Regions from separate parts of the Homo sapiens genome. Here region 2 is linked to region 1. Evidence: promoter capture Hi-C in human tissues and cell types (Jung and others, 2019). All regions are on one chromosome and are shown on one strand. Each heading gives the region's core, a stretch centred on a gene start or on the middle of the fragment in contact. The rest is flanking DNA. Distances are from core to core; before and after follow the strand shown. Region 1 holds the start of MLLT11 (MLLT11 transcription factor 7 cofactor). Region 2 overlaps PIP5K1A (phosphatidylinositol-4-phosphate 5-kinase type 1 alpha).

Region 1 (5,604 bases), core at 923-3,422:
CAAGATAGTGAAACCCCGTCTTTACTAAAAATACAAAAATTAGCCAGGTGTGGTGGCAGGCGCCTATAATCCCAGCTACTCGGGAGGCTGAGGCAGGAGAATCGCTTGAACTGGGGAGGTGGAGGTTGCAGTGAGCCAAGATTGCACCACTGCACTCCAGCCTGGGCAACAGAGCGAGACTCCATCTTAAAAAAAAAAAAAAAATAGAATCATGGGGGGAAAAAATCATAGAATTTTAAAACTAGAAGACATCTTAGAAATTAATGACTTGGGAAGACTTCCAGCCAGTTTGTATAGAATCCAGATCTCATAATTCCCAATCTGATCCCTTTTTGTGTTGTACATGGATAGTTGCCAACAGCTTTATATAACCCTATACCAGTATTCCCAAAACTTAAAAGAATTTTTAGTTGCTGAAGAATAGATTTTCCGTGGTTTAGGTGATTGTTCCTGTAATTGTGATCTGAATGGGGAAAAGCAAAGGGCAGTAGAGCAAGCTAGAATCTGAGAAAAAAAAAAAAGCTCTTCGACAAACTGACTCCTTTTCTTACAACCAGAGTATGTATAAAAAACTGCTCAAACAGTCCCTGAGTGTTTGGTAGAGCTATCTTGCAATTTAAAAAGCTAAAGCAAATTTTATGAAATATTAACTCAAAAGGCCTAAAATCTCTATGTCATTGACCCAGAGACATGTACACAGGGTACCAAATACATTCAAGAAAGACATGCATGCAAACATACGTGGCATTAAAATCAAGTCAAGAACATAAAGTAATACTACACAGAAAATTGAAGTTAAAATGCTATTCACTAATGTAAGTAGTAATGACATTTTTGATTTAATATAGTATGGATTTAATTATCAAATACTCCAAATTTCGCAAAAGATCCTTTTTTGGCTAGCTTCCCCTTCCCCTCCACAAATGCTCTCCAGCCCTACTTCATCTATCTTTACATCTTTCATTATCTTAAATGGTATCATTTACTTAAAGGGTTTTGACAGTGCCTTGTACCACAATATATGTTCAATAAATGCTTCCCACTATCCTTCACTTTAAATTATCCGGGTATTTTAGGCAAAGGCAATATCTAATTATCACTCTGTTCTTAGAGATACATGATTAGCAAATGTATAGATTAGAAAGATACACTCTCGGAGCCACACAGACACGCCCAAATATCCTTTGTCCAGACCCTTTGTGGGCATCCAAGGCCTACTCAACAGGGCCTTGCTGTGTCATGCTGCCACCATGGGGAAGGGGGAAGGACAAGGTGGTGGTGGTGGTAGAGGGGAGCAGAACCTCTCTGACATCTCATAATGTGTGCCTCAGTCAGAGCTTGGATTTTCCTACTAGCATTCCTCCACCAATTCCACTGAGCTGCAAATCATTCTTTTCCAGAATCTGTCCCCATACCTAGCTCCTGTGGGCTATACTGATTTCACTATGGAATCAGGCAGTTCTCCAACACAGAGGCCCCCACCTTTCCTACCCTAGGCTGCCTCTTTCTTTGGAGCAAAGATTCGAGGTGGAATGAAAGAGATTATCCAAAGAAAGGTCAGGATTACACCCAACATTATCCCATATAACCCCCTCCCAAACTCCCTCCTACAGAGAAACATAGAACACTACAGAAAAAAATTGCAAGTATAGGGAAGTAGAGGACAGAGAGATACAGTAGGACTAAAAATTAAACAGCTGGTAAAACAAATTATGGTTTGAAAAGGAAGATAAGTAGACTGAAGATATTAAATACACAGGACAATAAATTACAGAAAAGGATACTTGAAATGAGGTAGGTGCTGAGAAATAACTACAAGTAAATTGTTAGAGATTAATGGTCTGTATAAGGTAACAAGGCATGGATGCTGTGAAGAAATAACTACCCATTGTTCATAGCGCCCCCTTCTCTCCTCTTCAGCTGTCCCCCACCTCATGTGGGGTCTTTCAATCTAACCATAAGCAGCCGCTCTTCTATCTTTGCAGCCCCCTGCCCCCTCCCTCAGTTTGGTTTACCTGTTATCAATCAATTACTGGCGTGTTCCAAAGATGGAGGGAGTGCCTCGGGAGCTCCGGGGTCTGCGCCGGGCTGGAGAAATACAAAGCTGTTGGGGCTTTGACGGCTTTGTCTTCTCACTCCTTTTCCCTCTTCAGTGACTGAGTCTGTCAGTTCACTCTCCCCCTGCAATGCAGCCCCTCCTAAGAAGGGCGGAAGGATTCCCCGCCCCCTCCTGCCTGACTCGGCTAATTCAAATGATAGGTTCCAGAACACTTGAGGGAAGGAGAGACGATGAAAGCATCTCCCTAGGCTCATTGGTCTGCGCTATTATTCCCGATCTCTTCCAGCACCCCCGTGCTGACTGGGGGCCCAATGAATGAGCAGTTAATTGCCCTCTAATTTTAGGTCCTCTAATTTATGGATTTGAAATCTTAACTCTAGACTACAATGGAAAGGAGGAGTATTCCTTTCTTCCACAATTTAAGGACTTTAGGTTACAAAGTATTTTTAAGAATCAGAGTATTTTTCCACCCCTTCTCCCAATCCCTGCTCCTCCAGACTCGCCTCTCTACCCTCACAATGGGTAAATAAACCTAGTCCTATTCCATTTTGGGTAGAGCACAATAAATTTGGGGTGGGGGGCGTGCTTCTGCGAATCTCTGAACTTGGTTAGGTCTGGGGGTTTGGGGGGCTCCGCTTCGTTTTGCCCCGAAATGCCTGGCGAGTAAAGGGAACGTGAGATTCCGGGGGCCCCAGCTTGGGTGCCAGGGCCTCATCTAGGTGTCCGCATTCTCCAGTTCTCCCCGCAGGGGCGGCGGCCTTGAGGGGCTGCAGAGGCACCCTCCCACGTCCCGCGCAGTGCAGTGCCTCCGCAGTCCAGAGGGGAGCAGTGCGCCGGGCTCCGAGCCGGACGGGTTTCGTAATCGCGTCGCCGCCGCTTCCGCCCTCAGCCGGCCCCACCTCTGCCGGCTCGTACTCGGCTCCCCCACCTCGCCGCAGAGCTAGCCCGGGAAGCCCACACTGGCGGCCACGGAGCAGAGTCCCTCACCCCCACCAGCTGTAGCTGAACGTCTGGATGGTGGAGAAGAGCAGGTGAGGCCGTGCAGTTGGTCCCCTGGCCCGCCTGCCGCGCCGGCCGGGCCAGGCGGAGACACACCGGATGCGGGGTGTGGGGGAGGCGGGTGTCCTGGGCTGCAGAGATGCTGGGGTGGTGGGAAAGGGGTGCGCGCCCGGGGTGGCCGTAGTCATCCACGCTCCTGGGGTGCGCAGGCTGAGGCCGCTGAAGAGTAGAAGGAAAAGAAGGAACTGGAATGTTGGGGGAGGTGGGAGGGAGAGGGTCCGAAAGATTCCCAGAGAGGTCCCAGTCCGGTTAAGGGTTGAGAACAGCAGAGAACTTCTAGGTAGAGTTGTGTAGTGGGGGGAGACAGATACGGAATCTGTGTGATTGAATATATTTGGGGAGGGGAGGCTTAGGGCCTAGCCCTCTTTCCTCTTAAGCCCCCAGAAGACCTTTCCTGGGGAAGGGAAGGTTGGTGTTGGGCCTGTCACTTGGCTGAAATATGGAGTCCACACCGCTTCTCCAGAGTCCCTCAGCAGCCCTCCATGTCTCGGGGTCTCCACACAGGGACCAGCTGCTGCCCCGGGCTTCTAGCCAGAATTGCCCATGCCATTCTCTCGATTCTTTCTTTCTCTCCAGCTGCTTCATGTGAGGGCTTGTCAGGCCGCGGGTTGGAGGCCTTAGGGCCAGAGGCGGTGGGACCGGGAGAACCGGTTTGGGGCCCGAACAGGACCAGAGAACTAGCCTGTACATCCTTCCTCCCTGGCACCTCTTTCCCATCCCTTCTGCTCACCTCCCAACAGCTCTGAGACCCTCAAGTCCTAGTATGATCTTGGTGGGGGCGGGGGGTGGCTTTCCCGGTTCCATATTTCACTCTTGCCATTTGGAACTCAGAGAGGTCGAGTTCTGAGCACCACTTGGCTCTCAGGACGTGGCCTTATGAGGTCTAATCCTCATCCCTCCTGTTGTTTTCTCAGCCCCTTCCCTATTCACTGTGGGGTTGGATTCGGGTGGCTCTTCCGCCTGGGCTGACCAGCTCAGGACTTCATTTTTCCTCAACCCACTCTCTTCTGGCTGCTTTAAAGAAGAGTGGCCGCCAGTGGCTCTTACTTCCTTTTCTGGCTTTGTTCCCATCCCCCACTGCCCTGCGCTACCATCACATTCACCCTGACCTGTCTTCTTCACACTCTGACCCCACCCTCAAGTTTCAGAGACCCTAATGTCCTAGGGAATGGAATTTCCTGGTCACTTCTCGTCATCATTGGTCATTTCATGCCAAGTCCCACACACACGCTTTCCCTCCACCCAGCTCTGGTCAGGTCCCTGGAAAAGAAACAGAAATGGCCTTGTTCTCTCCACTGCCCCTTTCCCTCTCTCCTTCTCCTCCCCCTCTCTTCTCTTCCCTCCCAGCACTATCCACCTCTGTCCCTCAGCTTTGAGCAGAGTGGGGGATGTTGAGGGAGAGTCCAGTCACAGTACAGCCTGCCTGCTGGTGTTGGGGGTTTCCTCTAATTCTTCATTTTTCCCCAACCCTTACCACCTGCCACCACCACCATCAGGACAAACCCTATGACTGACTCACTGACGTCCCACTGACCACAGCTCCCCTCTCTGGACAGCGTGTTTTAGCTTCCGCTCCTTCTGGTTACTCCTCCCTTCCAGTGGTGAGAAGAGAAGAGAAAGCCCAGCCTCCTGGGTTCTCCCCTCCCCTAGAAGCTACATTTGAGTGTTTGTGTGATCTCATCTCAAGGCTGTTAAAAAAAAAAAAAACCTCTGTGTGTGTGTGTGTGTGTGTGTGTGTGTGTGTGTGTGTGTGTTTTGTATTTGAGACAGGGTCTTGTCCTGTCACCCAGGCTGGAGTGCAGGGGTGCAAACATGGCTCACTGTAGCCGCAACTCTTGGGCTCAAGTGATCCTCCTGCCTCAGCCTCCCCAGTAGCTGGGATGACAGGCACATGCTACCACACCCTGCTATCTCGTTTTTTTGTGTGTGTTTTTTTTGAGGCGGAGTTTCGCTCTTGTTGCCCAGGCTGGAGTGCAGTGGCGATCTCGGCTCACTGCAATCTCCGGTTCAAGCGATTCTCCTGCCTCAGCCTCCCAAGTAGCTGGGATTACAGGCATCCGCCACCACGCCCAGCTAATCTTTTGTATTTTTAGCAGAGATGGGGTTTCACCATGTTGGCCAGGCTGGTCTGGAACTCCTGACCTCAGGTGATCCGCCCACCTTGGCCTCCCAAAGTGCTGGGATTACAGGCGTGAGCCACCACGCCCGGCCTATCTCTTGTTTTTAAATCAGTCTAGGGTGCCAAAGCATCAGGGTTCCCGGCCTGCAAGAAAGGGAGATTCCTGTTCATGTTAAAGTGTCATATTTATGAAACTGCCCTTTTTGGAATCTTTGAGGTTGTCTGTACTATAGGACTGGGGAAATGCAAGTGAGTCTAAGAAGAAACCCAGATGTGTCCTACCCTGGCTGGCAGTAGTGAGAAGGGAGGAAGTTCTTCCTTGGACACTAGTACTATTGGAAAGTTCCTTATGTCTGGTTCACTGATG
Region 2 (5,604 bases), core at 1,352-3,851, 170 kb before region 1:
GCCAGGCTGGTCTCGAACGCCTGACCTGGTGATCTGCCTGCCTCAGCCTCCCAAAGTGCTGGGATTACAGGCGTGAGCCACCACGCCCGGCCTGGTTAGTCTTTATTTACATACCCTTAGCTTTCTCTCATTTGAGTTAATATAATTTTTCCAAGTCCCACTGCCTAGCCCACAAGACCATCTTTGTTCTTTCCATGTATGTCTCCATGAAGAGAACACTACCTTCTCAAAAGAACAAGGAATACATATTTGTGCTGTGAAGATTCCACAATGAGGTTCTGGTAAAGTACACTTTGTGACAGAACAGATCTGTGGTAGGACCTTGTATGACTAGCTTCAATTCAGTTAAACATTTACTGAATCTCCACCATGTAGGCACTGTGCCTCCTTACAGAGATATAAAGATATTAAAGAGAGAGTTTCTGTCTTCAAGGACATTATACATTTAGAAAGGGATACAAATGTAAAATAAACACAATACAGTTTAATATGTGCAACAGTGGGAAGTGTTCACATGACAGAAGAGTACAGAGGTCAAGAGTGATATCTAGGCCGGGTGCGGTGGCTCACACCTGTAATCCTAGCACTTTGGGAGGCCAAGGCAGGCAGATCATTTGAGGTCAGGAGTTTGAAACCAGCGGGACCAACGTGGTGAAACCCTGTCACTACTAAAAATACAAAAACGACCCAGGCGTGGTGATGGGCGCCTGTAATCCCAGCTACTTGGGAGGCTGAGGCAGGAGAATCGCTTGAATCTGGGAGGTGGAAATTGCAGTGAGCCGAGATCGTGCCATTGCACTCCAGCCTGGGTGACAAGAGTGAAACTCCATCTCAAAAAATAAAAAATAAAGTAAAATGTAGATACATTTATCCATTGGTGACAGGGGCAGCATGAGAGGATGAAATAGGATAAAAAGTTAAGGTAGCTTGTTGAGAAACAAAGCTAGGGAGATGAGAGTCAGAAAATGGTTTGATTAGAATGCCAAACATCTGAAATCCCTATTGAGAGCAACAGCAAATGGACTGAAGATCGATATTGAAAGCCCAAGTGGGGTTGGATATCATAATTCTGTAGATGCCAGTATACACGGTTGTGTAATATTCTTCAGCAGCACTCAGCTTCCAAAATATAAATTTGGATTTGGCAGCCAGGACCAAAATCTGAGGAAGGATGATGTTGGTATGAAAATAAGCAGAACATTTGACTGTGAGGCCCAGGCTAGCTAGAGAAGGAAATAAATCCCATTGTGGGAGGATAAACGGGGAGAAAGTAAAAATGTAAAGGAATGGCAATGAACTAATTAAGACTTATTTTAAATACAGCCCAGGACATACAGTGCTAAGGAACAGAGTTCCATCTCCCACAAACTTAATGCCTAAGAACAATCAAGCTGTTTTAGTAACTGAGATTTTTGATGTCTAAGTAACAAACTCACCAAACAGTCACGCTGCAGGGTCTTACAGAGAGCGTTGTACATGTCAGCATCCAAAAAAAGACCATCAGGGATGTCTTGTAAGAAGTCTAGGTCTTTAAATGTGGGAAGAGGCTTCTCTCGCTCTTTCTGGGAAGCCCGCCGTTTGTAGGTTGAGCCTTTGAGGTCATATTTGATATGCATTTTTACCGATCTTGGTAAAAGATTGTTCATCACCACAATCCGAATGTTCTTGCCACCTGCCTGCACACAGTACAGTCCATAGAATTTAGGCAGCAAAGTCCGAGGGTTCTGGTTGAGGTTCTGAGAACACAAAAGGAAACAGAAGTAGGAGAACAACTTAGCTGATTTTCAGTGAAACTCACCAGTAAAAGTTACCACCCATCCTCCCTTTATCTCCTATATGAGATTTAGACACAATGTGTCCATAAACCTACATCATATATGCTTTACATTTCCCTATGCATCTATTTCAATGGTAAGTTCACCATCAAGCTGTGCCACAGACTCTCCAATACAGAAATCAGCCAGGATACCAATATAAGATGGATATATTTCTTCAGAGAGATTTAAGAGAAGACGACACTCTCTGCCCTGGGTATAGTATATTCTTGGGGATGGTAAGGCAGGTAAGGAGAGTTACCTAACTTCTCCAGAACCTCCAATAGCAATCAGAGTAAGGCTGCAGAGAGTATTACCAAGGGAAATAACCTACCTCATTCCCCAAACTAGAAGCTGAACTAAGAACAGAAGACGAAAATAGCCAGGTGCAGTGGCTCATGCCTGTAACCCCAGCACTTTGGGAGGCCAAACAGGAGGATCACTTGAGCTCAGGAATTTGAGACCAGCCTGGGTAACATAGCAAGACCTCATCTCTACTAAAAATTTATAAAAATTAGGCCGGGCACGGTGGCTCACGCCTGTAATCCCAGCACTTTGGGAGGCCAAGGCAGGCGGATCATGAGGTCAGGAGTTCAAGACCAGCCTGACCAACATGGTGAAACTCCATCTCTACTAAAAAATAAAAAATTAGCTTGGCATGGTGGCGCATGCCTGTAATCCCAGCTACTCAGGAGGCTGAGGCAGGAGAATTGCTTGAACCTGGGAGGCGGAGGTTGCAGTGAGCCGAGATTGTGCAACTGTACTCCAGCTTGGACAACAAAGCGAGACTCCGTCACGAAAAAATAAAAGAAAATAAGTTTATAAAAATTAGCCAGGTGTGGTGGTGCGTGCCTTTAGTCCCAACTACGTGAGAGGCTGAGGTGGGAGGATCACTTGAGCCTGGGAGATCAACAACACTTAAAACAGAACAGATAAACAAAACCCCTTTTACCATAGAGAGGCAAAAGAAATGGGGTGAAAAGCACAAAACTGAACAACATTTTTTTTTTTTTTTTTTTGAGACGGAGTCTTGCTCTGTTACCCAGGCTGGAGTGCAGTGGCAGGATCTCGGCTCACTGCAAACTTCGCCTCCCAGATTCACGCCATTCTCCTGTCTCAGCCTCCTGAGTAGCTGGGACTACAGGCGCCCGCTACCACGCCTGGCTAATTTTTTGTATTTTTAGTAAAGACGAGGTTTCACCATGTTGGCCAGGATGGTCTTGATCTCCTGATCTTGTGATCCTCTTGCCTCGGCCTCCCAAAGTCCTGGGATTACAGGCATGAGCCACCGTGCCTGGCCTGAACTACACTCTTAAGATAGAAGTGCTGACACTGTTTTACCCTGCTGAAGACAGCCTCCCCAGCCTTGCCCAGAAGTGAGCAGCACAGGTGGACAGTGCTTCTCTCTCCCTTACCATGTAGTATCCTGGAAGCAGCTTCTGCAGAAATTCCGCCTCTTTATGTTGGACTGTCTTAATAATGAACTCATCGTCGCTGGACACATAGAATAGGGAACCACTAGCTCCAGAGCTACAGAGTTCAATCAGCGGCTCACTGCAGAGGGAATACTGGGGCAAACAGAGAAGAACTAAGAGATTTAGACACATCAGGGCCTTGCCCAACACAAAAATCAACTACAGATGCAATTCTTTTCTAAATAAAAACCAGAGCGAGACTGTGGAGAAAAGGGGCCTTCCTTTGGGAATATCCCTCTGATACTGGAGTCACAGTGTCCTGATATCCAGATGCTTACCAAGTAATCATCGGGCCGGATACCAAATAGCTCCCGGAAGTAGCGGAAGGCAACAGGTGCATAGGTCTTGAAACGAAAGTCATTGTAGTGATGAGCAGGGGTCAGGTTGCTCCCTTCACTGTGGGGTTAAACAGAGGTAGCCATAACTTGCCAGTCCCTATCATCCAGAGAATCTACCTTGCGAAGACACTCAGAGTCACCTCATGGTGGGGGGAGTGGGGGAATACATTCCTCCTAAGATAATCACAGCCCTTCTTAGATGAGTTAGTGAGACAATGGCACAGCATGGACAGCAAGACATAAGAAGAAGAAGAAATCACACTGCCTCCTATCCAATGCATTAGGTTGTTTTTTACGGGTCAATCCATAGGACAGAGGCTAATGGAAGCATCTAGAGGACAGTATCTGCTCTCCGAACTCTCTAGTCCCACATCGCCCTGATTGTAACCAGGTTAAGAAATGGACACATGTCTAAATTGTCCGACCTGAACCCCTAAAACTGCCCTGGGCTGATTTGAAAAGGCCACATTTCCAGGACATGCTCCTGAACATTAAACTCTGTACCTGGGAAAGAAGATACTCTCAACCACGTAGAAATCTTGCATGAGGACATCACGCTCTGGTTTGGTACTCAGGCTCCCCACAGTGTGGGTAATGCCTAACTGGATGGCACCTTTCAAGGCTGATGAGGTTGTCTGAGAAACAAGAGAAATGAGAAGAAAATTCCTAGTATAAGTAGGATCATAACAATAAAAATTCAGAAAGGGGAAGCTAGAAGGAACACTTTAAAACAAACATCCTTTAGTCTGAGCAATAGTTCAGATAAAACTGGGACAATCCAGTTTCCCCATCCCTATGCTGTACTCTGCAATTAAGCTTAGTAAAGATTGGAAGGACAGTGAGGATACAGAGTAGCAAAGCTGGGACTCTCTGAGCCAGCCTCAGCTAGGCAAGGTGCTCCCTCCTGTTGGCCTGCCTAAACAAGAGTTCCATATTTGTATTTGGAAGATACATTGTATTGACACAACGTTCTTAGTTCTCACTCCTAAGGTTTCTGCCCCCAGAGTGTATCTGGAGCCCTCTAAACATTTCCTTCATCTGATATCGAATGTAACTAAAATTAACCAATATTCCTTTTTTTTTTTTTTTTTTTTGAGACTAAGTCTCACTCTGTCACCCAGGCTGGAATGGAGTACAGCAGCATGATCTCGGCTCACTGCAAACTTTGCCTCCCCGGTTCAAGCGATTCTCATGCCTCAGCCTCCCGAGTAGCTGAGATTACAGGCATGCACCACGACACCTTGCTTATTCTTTATATTTTTAGTACAGATGGGGTTTCACTATGTTGGTCAGGCTGGTCTCAAGCTCCTAACCTCAGAACTCCCAAAGCTCTGGGATTACGGGCATGAGCCACCATGCCCAGCCCTAAAATTAACCAATATTCTGATCTGACTGCCTGGCGGCAGAAACTTCAGTCCTCTAAGGAAGGGCCTGACTAGTGTGTCTCAAGGCCAACAGGGTGGGGTGGGCGCGGGCGGAGGCTCACGCCTCTAATCCAAGCACTTTGGGAGACTGAGGTGGGCAGACCACTTTAGGCCAAGAGTTCGAGACCAGCCTGGCCAATGTGGTGAAACCGTCTCTACTAAAAACACAAAAATTAGCTGGATGAGGTGGTGTGCACCTGTAGTCCCAGCTACTCAGAAGGCTGAGACAGGAGAATTGCTTGAAGCTGGGAGGCGGAGGCTGCAGTGAGCCAAGATCACACCACTGCATTCCAGCCTGGGTAACACAGCCAGACTGTCTCAAAAAAAAGGGCAACAGTGTGGTAAAAGAGCTCCTAACTGAAGAAGAAAGCATGAAAGACTCAAATTATTTCTGAGAGCAGTATTCAGACTTAGAATTATCAAACTTGGTCAAAACACAAATACAAGAGCCCCACTCTTACAATCCAGGATTCCAAGCCCGTGGGAAAGTATCGCATCATCTAGATCTTTGCTGTCTGATAACAGTAGCCACTAGGTACACATGGCTATTTAA

The links. Contacts are between HindIII fragments. The study calls those that stand out against the background at their distance.
Region 2: a contact is called between a fragment that was not itself captured here and the fragment with the promoter of MLLT11 in region 1, in 1 of the 25 tissues and cell types used here (pancreas).

The regions. Positions count from the first base shown.
Region 1 is chr1:151,056,965-151,062,568 of GRCh38, reverse strand. It overlaps MLLT11 (MLLT11 transcription factor 7 cofactor), which reads right to left and starts at 2,172. Exons shown (of 2, transcript NM_006818.4): 1 at 2,016-2,172. It overlaps CDC42SE1 (CDC42 small effector 1), which reads left to right and starts at 2,947. Exons shown (of 5, transcript NM_020239.4): 1 at 2,947-3,090. RefSeq lists an enhancer at 2,035-2,626 and silencers at 4,490-4,539, 4,550-4,609. The HindIII fragment of the contact is 8,370 bases long and covers 600-5,604 here.
Region 2 is chr1:151,230,329-151,235,932 of GRCh38, reverse strand. PIP5K1A (phosphatidylinositol-4-phosphate 5-kinase type 1 alpha) reads right to left here. Exons shown (of 16, transcript NM_001135638.2): 5 at 4,132-4,262; 6 at 3,568-3,685; 7 at 3,230-3,382; 8 at 1,437-1,736. Among named protein-coding and RNA genes, the nearest start is that of PSMD4, 22 kb to the left of the region's middle. The HindIII fragment of the contact is 7,660 bases long and covers 1-5,604 here.